2 separate regions of the Homo sapiens genome follow, and region 1 is linked to region 2. Evidence: promoter capture Hi-C in human tissues and cell types (Jung and others, 2019). All regions are on one chromosome and are shown on one strand. The core of a region is centred on a gene start or on the middle of the fragment in contact, and the rest is flanking DNA. Distances in the headings are between cores, read along the strand shown. Region 1 has its middle 17 kb from the start of SLC25A43. Region 2 holds the start of PGRMC1 (progesterone receptor membrane component 1).

Region 1 (3,562 bases), core at 52-2,551, 150 kb before region 2:
TTGATAACTGCCACTTCTAGGCCTAAACCATGTAATACCCTTCATGATTTTTCATGCTATTAATAAATCTCTTTGCTCTTGTACAGCAGGAAGCAAAGGACTCTGAAATGGTGGAACACGATGCAAGGAACCTGTATCCTTGGGTTTACCCCTCAGAGGAAAACCACCCTGGAGAGTTGCTCATACAGGAACCATCTCATAGGACTTTGTGTGAGTGAAAAATCAACCTTTGGTTAAGCCACTGAAATTTCAGGGTTTCTTCGTTACCACAGCAGATTCTAGTCTACCTGACTGTCTCAGTCTGTTTGTGTCGGTATGCAGAAATATCTGGCTGGGCGCAGTGGCTCATGTCTGTAATCCCAGAACTTTGGGAGGCCAAGGCAGGCAGATCACTTGAGGCCAGGAGTTCGAGACCAGCCTGGCCAGCATAGTGAAACTTCATCTCTACTAAAAATACAAAAAATTAGCAAGGTATGGTGGTGTGTGCCTGTAGTCCCAGCTACTTGGGAGTCTGAGGCACGAGAATCGCCTGAGCCCAGGAGGCAGAGGTTGCAGTGAGCCAAGATCGTGCCACTGCACTCCAGCCTGGGTGACAGAGCCAGACTCTGTCTCAAAAACAAAAACAAAAACAAAAACAAACAAACAAAAAGACCAGCCTGGCCAATGTGGCAAAACCCCATCTCTACTAAAAATACAAAAAATTGGCTGGATGTGGTAGTGCACACCTGTAGTTTCAGCTACTCGGGAGACTGAGGCACAAGAATTGCTTGAGTCTGGGAGGCAGTGGTTGCAGTGAGTTGAGATTGTGCCACTGCACTCCAGCCTGGGTCACAGAGTGAGACGCTGTCTAAAAAAAAAAAAAAAGAAAGAAAGAAAAAGAAATATCTGAGCTAATAAAGAAAAGAGGTTTGTTTGGCTCATGGTTCCACGGGCTGGAATGTTGGGCATCTTGGTAAAAGCCTCAGGGTGCTTCCACTCATGGTAGAAGGCAAAGGGGAGCCAGTGTATGCAGAGATCACATGGCAAGAGAGGAAGCAAGGGAGAGAAGGGGGAGGTACTAGGCTCTTTTTAACAACCAGCTCTCATGAGAAGTAATAGAGTGAGAACTCACTCACCACTTCCCTCCCTAGGGCATTAATCTATTCATGAGAGATTTGCCCCATTACCCAAACATCTCCTAATAGGCCCCATCTCCAACACTGGGGATCAAATTTCCACATGAGTTTTGGGGGAACAAACATCCAAACAATAGCACTAACTAACACAGCTACACACTGTTGACCACAAGAAAGCCCTCTCTACCTGAGCTACACATGAAGGTTATGAGAAGCACTTAATGCTTGCCAGTTATGTTAAAGTTTTTTTTTTCCAGCTTTGTTATGAGGTTAGGGTAATGACCATAAATAACTACTTTTGCTCAAGGAAGTCACTGACTTCCCTAAGGAAAATTCATCACTTGACTGAGTTTCAAGAAAAATCTTGTATCTTTCTGGAACAAAAACCCTTAATCTGAATGATCATAAGCATGATTAAGATTAACTTTACGCAGCCCAAATGTATGCTTGTATGACAAGCTTCATCAGTGTTCTATCCTTCCAGATAAACCGAATGCAGTGATTGTAAAAACTGTAGCTACAGCACACATGCCTTTTTTTTTTTTTTTTTGAGACTGAGTGTCACACTCTGTCCCCCAGGCTGGAGTGCAGTGGCACGATCTCGGCTCACTGCAACCTCTGCCTCCCGGGTTCATGCCATTCTCCTGCCTCAGCCTTCCGAGTAGCTGGGACTACAGGCGCGTGCCACCACACCCGGCTAATTTTTTGTGTTTTTAGTAGAGACGGGATTTCACCATGTTAGCCAGGATGGTCTCGATCTCCTGACCTCGTGATCTGCCTGCCTCGGCCTCCCAAAGTGCTGGGATTACAGGTGTGAGCCACTGCAACTGGCAGCACACATGCCTTGATGGAGATTGTGAGGCTGTGGTATTAAATGGTTTTCATTATCTGATTTTCCTAGTTATGAATTAAACTGAAGAACTTGCTGAAAACATTTTGATCATAATGAAGAGACTCTTGAAATGCTTGATTAAGTGTATTCTGAAGAATTTCCCCAAAGTGGATGGCAGTGGTGTGTGGCTAATTGTGTCTATTTGGGTCCTCTAGGAAGCAGATGCTAATACGGAGTTAGGAATGCAGGATGTTGATTGTGGCTAATACCTGTGAAAGATAAAAGGGCAGAGAGCAAGATTGGGCAGGAAAGGCATTCAAACTACAATGCATATCTGACACATGTGAAAGGATAAGGGGTGGAAACAGAATTTGGCAGAGTTGCCTTAGACTTTGAGGCAAATATGACAAAGTCTTGGTCTCAACCCAGTGGGGAGTTCTGGAGGAAAGACTGCCTCTTAAAAGAGTCTCACATTGGGCAGAAGTGGCCAGGCCCTAGAACTGCCACCTTGCTTAGTTATTGACTGGAGGCTGCCCAGGGAAAGCATGGTTTTGTCAAGAATACTGCAGCCAGTCTTGGAAGGTCCTGCAACCTGAGGCTGTAAGCTAACTTCACTCCTCATAGTTCCATGGCAAAGTCTTTCTTGATGGGAGCTCTGAGCTATGCAGCTCCATGCTTGCCACAGTCCATCCTTTGTGTTGCTTGGATTAACTTCAGAGTTCTTGTTCAGAGTTCCTGTGAACCTCTCTTCCTGAGGGAAGACTTAGAAGAGGAGGTTAGTGGGAAGAGCAATAGCTCATCTTGCTGCAGTTGGTCTCAGGGCTGCCACTAGGTTTCATTTTCTTCCTTCTCCACAATCCATTCTATATTTGTACTGATTTTCTGCCTGCTTAATCTATCCATTGCTGACAGAGGGGTGTTGAAATCTCCAATGATAATAGTAGATGTGTCTAGTTATTCTTACAGTTCTATCAATTTTTGTCTCATTTATTTTGATGCTTTGTTGTTAGGGCATACACGTTTTAAGATTGTATTGTTTTCTTGAGACTTGACCCCCATAATGCCCCATTTTATTTTATTTCTTTTTCAGAATTGTAAAATTTTATTTTCTATATGTCAACATTCTTAATAATACAGCTTGATCAAAAAAAATTCTGACCATAAGCATGTTGATTATTTCCCTTTGGAACTGGTGAAGTCAGAAAAATAAAATATTTATTTTGAATATATAGCATCCAAAAGATTCACTTAATGTGGCCTTATTTGTTTATATTCAAAGGCTTTCTTCCCTCAAAATAAAGGTTCTAAGGTAAATTCAAGATTCTTTTGAATGAAAAAAAGAAAACTGGCTGGGCACAATGGGTCAGGCCTGTAATCCCAGCACTTTGGGAGGCCAATGTGAGCATTTCACTCCCAAGAGTTCAAGAACAGCCTGGGCAACATAGGGAGACCCTGTCTCTACAAAATTTACAAAAAATTAGCCAGGTGTAGTGGCACGCTCCTGTGCTCCCAGCTACTCAGAAGGCTGGGGTGGAAAGATTGCTGGAGCCAGGGAAGTCGAGGCTGCAGTGAGCCAAGATTGTACCACTGCACTCCAGCCTGGGCGACAAAGCGA
Region 2 (3,497 bases), core at 180-2,679:
CTGGTTGGCTTTTCCTGATATCCCCCCACCCAGCAGTCTTCTTAGCTCTACTCCTTTTGTTTCTTGGTATCCTCCCACTTCTCCCTCCCTCCATTTTAATTTTTCTTGGCTTCTAATCCTTTCTCTCCTGCTATAGACTAAATACCATATTACCTTAAAAGCTTGCCACGTTACCATTGTCCACCATATTCAGCCTTTATTCCTCCCTCAAACAGCCCCCTTCCTCCTTGTTCACCTTCCAGCCTTTCCCCATCTGCCACACACAGCACAAGCGCACACAGACCAAACACATGCCACACACATACCTGACGCATGACCCATTTCAAGCGCGCATGCACACACCACACACACACACCCCTGATAAATCACATACACTAAACACGCACACACCGCGCATGCACACACCACGAGTGCACACACACATCACTATCCACCGGGCACAAAGCTTTTACCTGCTGCTAATCCCGTCTCGGCGTTTTCTCCCACACCCTCATATTTCAAACCTACTCCCGGTGTCATTGGCCTTCCCGTCTTCTCTAGGTCTGGACCTTTTCTCACTCTCGCCCTCCCCCATGCCTCCCTCGGAACACCCTCATTTCCTTCCTAGAACCCGACACTACCCCCTCCTCCTTCCAGGAATCCCCAAGCCCAGGACCTTCGAAAACTACCCCAACAGCCTGGGCTTTGATGTGTCCCCCCTCAACGCCTTCGAGCTTCGTGGTCCCACCCACCCCCGGCTTAAGCGCCTCAGCCTTCTTTCTCTAACCCCCTCCCAGCGCTGTCAGCGCGGGCCGGGGATCCGCGTCCCTGACTGGCCCGCAGCCCCTCTAGAGCGCCTCTTGTTCCCTGCCCGCCCCGGGAGCCTCCCGGCTCTCCGCCTGCCCGCCTACCCGCCTACCCTAGCTCGCCGCCATTCCTCCCTCCACTCAGGGGCGCCCCGCTCCCGCCTCGCCTCTCTCCCGCCCAGCCCCGTGCCGGGGCCCCCTTCTTTTGTCTCCAAGCCCCCCTCGCCGGCCGCGTACCGGGCCCGTAGAATTTGCGGCCTTTGGTCACATCGAACACCTTGCCGTTGATGGCCATGAGTATGCGCGGGTCCTGGACGCCGTCGAAGCGCCGCAGCTCGGCGGGGGTGAAGTCGCGCCGCTTGAGGCGGGGCAGAGGGGGCGGCTCGTCGTCGTCGCTGTCGCCGCTGGCCGCCGGCTGGTCCCCGCGCACGATCTTGTAGAGCAGGAAGATGCAGAGGCCAAGCAGCAGCAGGTTGAGCGGCGACGTGAAAATCTCATGCAGCAGCCCGCCGCTCTCCAGATCGCTTGGGTCGGCGCCAGTCGCCACCACATCCTCGGCAGCCATGATCTCTGGAGTAAAGGTTGGGCCGCGCTAGGCAGGGATCCGGAACTCGCCACTTTCTCCTCCCTCTGAGCGAGCGAGTGGCGCGCGGGGTTCGGCGGCGGCCAAAGACTAGCCGGGGAGGAGGCGGGGCCTGAGGGGCGGAGCCTCCAAGCCCCGCCTCCCCCGAGGCCACCTAAGCGCCCCGCCCTGCTCGGTCCCGCCCCGCAGCCCTCAGGCCCCCTCCAAAGCCTCTAGAGTCCGGCGCCGCTCCCCCGCGGCCGCGCGGTGCCCCCCTCAGTTCTACCTGGGAGGCCCCAGCCCAGCCTCACGCCATCCTCGCGCCATCCTATAGCTGAGCGCGACGCACGCGCTGCCCTCCTCTGAACCCCTTTTTTGCTCCTCGCAGACCGACCCGTTGGGAGGGCCTCGGCATTGCCGGGCTCTGTGCGAGCGCCCCTCCGCCACCTGATGCGCGCCAGACACCGACTCCCTTTCTGTTGCTGCAGGCTTTTCCCTGCCTCCCATTCTGAAGCCCCTCATCTTCCCCCTGCCGTTCCCGGGCCCTCCAAGCTGTCTTAGGAGACAGGAAACTCATTCTTCGAACTCCATTTTCTATGTTAGAGCCCTACACGACTCATTTTCACCTTGGGAACCCCCATTCGCTCTCCTTGATGGCCCTTCCCCAATTCTCCCCCAGATGCTGTGGGACCGACACCCCCGGGATTGCTAAAGTCAGTGCACAACTCTCCCTATTATCTGGGGAAACGAATCTGATCGCCCAGTTAACTTTGGGTTTGTTCTCCGAAAAACCCTTTTGCAATTACTGATTTGCTCAGTCACCAGGCATTAACAAGCAACGTTCTCTTGTTGCTCTTTTTTCCCCCCTCAGAATAATGTGAAAGTTTCTTTGTTTGGCAGCGTTCTTCTATTTGGAGTCTGTCAGGCTACCCTTGGCAGTCACAATAACCCTGAGCTGGAGCCCAGACAAAGGCGGGAGTTTGGAAGGATCCTAGGCCTGGTCCCTTCCTTTCCTAGGTATTTCATCCGGCCTTTGATGTGCTAACAGGCTGCACAGAAGCAGACCTCCACGGAGGAAGGGGTTGCCTCGTCCTAATCTGGCCCTTTTTCTGGTGGCGGGGGGAGGGGAGGAGAAGAAAGGATAGAGAGGGAAACAAATAATTAAAACCAAGCCGTGCACACATCTGCAGCCCAGAGCAGTACTTTTCCACCAAGTGTTCTGTTGGCTTGCACATAACTTACTCCTCCTCCCAACACGCAAGAGACTTGAGTAAAGATTGGCTTCCTACCTCAGAATTCTAAAAATTTCTGGCAAAAACTGCTTCCATCCCTGCCCCCCACATCTTCTTAAATCATTATAAAGTGCAATGAGCCAAACAATCTTTGTATCGGGCCCAGGCATTTTTCTCAGAGCTAAATTTGGGATTAGCTGAAACAGCCCCTCCAAATCTTTTGTCAAAACTCTTCAATTTAATCATGGAGAAACAGGCTCAAACTGAGGGCACTTGTCTATAGTTAGAATCTATCTCTTTTAACATGTATGGCCAAGAAAATTTAGAAAGCTAATAAACTTATAAAATATTTTCATTTGCAACTAATATGACAAAGGGTTAATATTTATTTGAGAGATCATTTGGATTGATAAGAAAATGTATAAGATTCTAGTCAATAAATGGGAAAAAATAGGAACAGGTAGTTCACAAAAGAGAGCATGCCAGTGGTGAATAAGCATATGAAAAATGTTCAGTCTCATTAGTAACAAAAAGAAAAGCATGGAGATGCCGCTGTCACCTACTACTTTTCTACAGGAAAGATAAAAGGGAAAAAAAAAAGGATAACACACTATTGGCGAGAGAGTGGTGAGACTCACATACGCTGTTGGGTATAACCTTTTATTATCCATAAAAATATTTTCTATCCATTAATCCCACTTCTAGAAATCTGCTCTTTGACCTAGTAATTCCATTTTCAGGAATCCATCCCAAGGAGACAGAAACGCAGACAAATATTTCATTACTAAGATGCTCAGCAGAGATTCATTTTTAATACAGAAAAACTGGAAACAACCTAAATGTCCGACTTCAAATAAAATGGCGAATTAATTCACTTGAATTGTGACAAAACCATTAAAAGGCCATTCAAATATCATC

Evidence for each region. The method cuts DNA at HindIII sites, captures the fragments that hold promoters and counts their contacts. A contact is called where the count stands out against the background at its distance.
Region 1: a fragment that was not itself captured here is called in contact with the fragment with the promoter of PGRMC1 in region 2 in 1 of the 25 tissues and cell types used here (aorta).

Annotation. Positions count from the first base shown.
Region 1 is chrX:119,380,407-119,383,968 of GRCh38, reverse strand. It overlaps the pseudogene MRPS17P9. Among named protein-coding and RNA genes, the nearest start is that of SLC25A43, 17 kb to the left of the region's middle. The HindIII fragment of the contact is 3,028 bases long and covers 1-2,815 here.
Region 2 is chrX:119,234,217-119,237,713 of GRCh38, reverse strand. It overlaps PGRMC1 (progesterone receptor membrane component 1), which reads right to left and starts at 1,429. Exons shown (of 3, transcript NM_006667.5): 1 at 1,023-1,429. The coding sequence starts at 1,350. It also overlaps the pseudogene NUDT19P6. RefSeq lists silencers at 817-966, 1,367-1,626, 1,657-1,706. The HindIII fragment of the contact is 12,683 bases long and covers 1-3,497 here.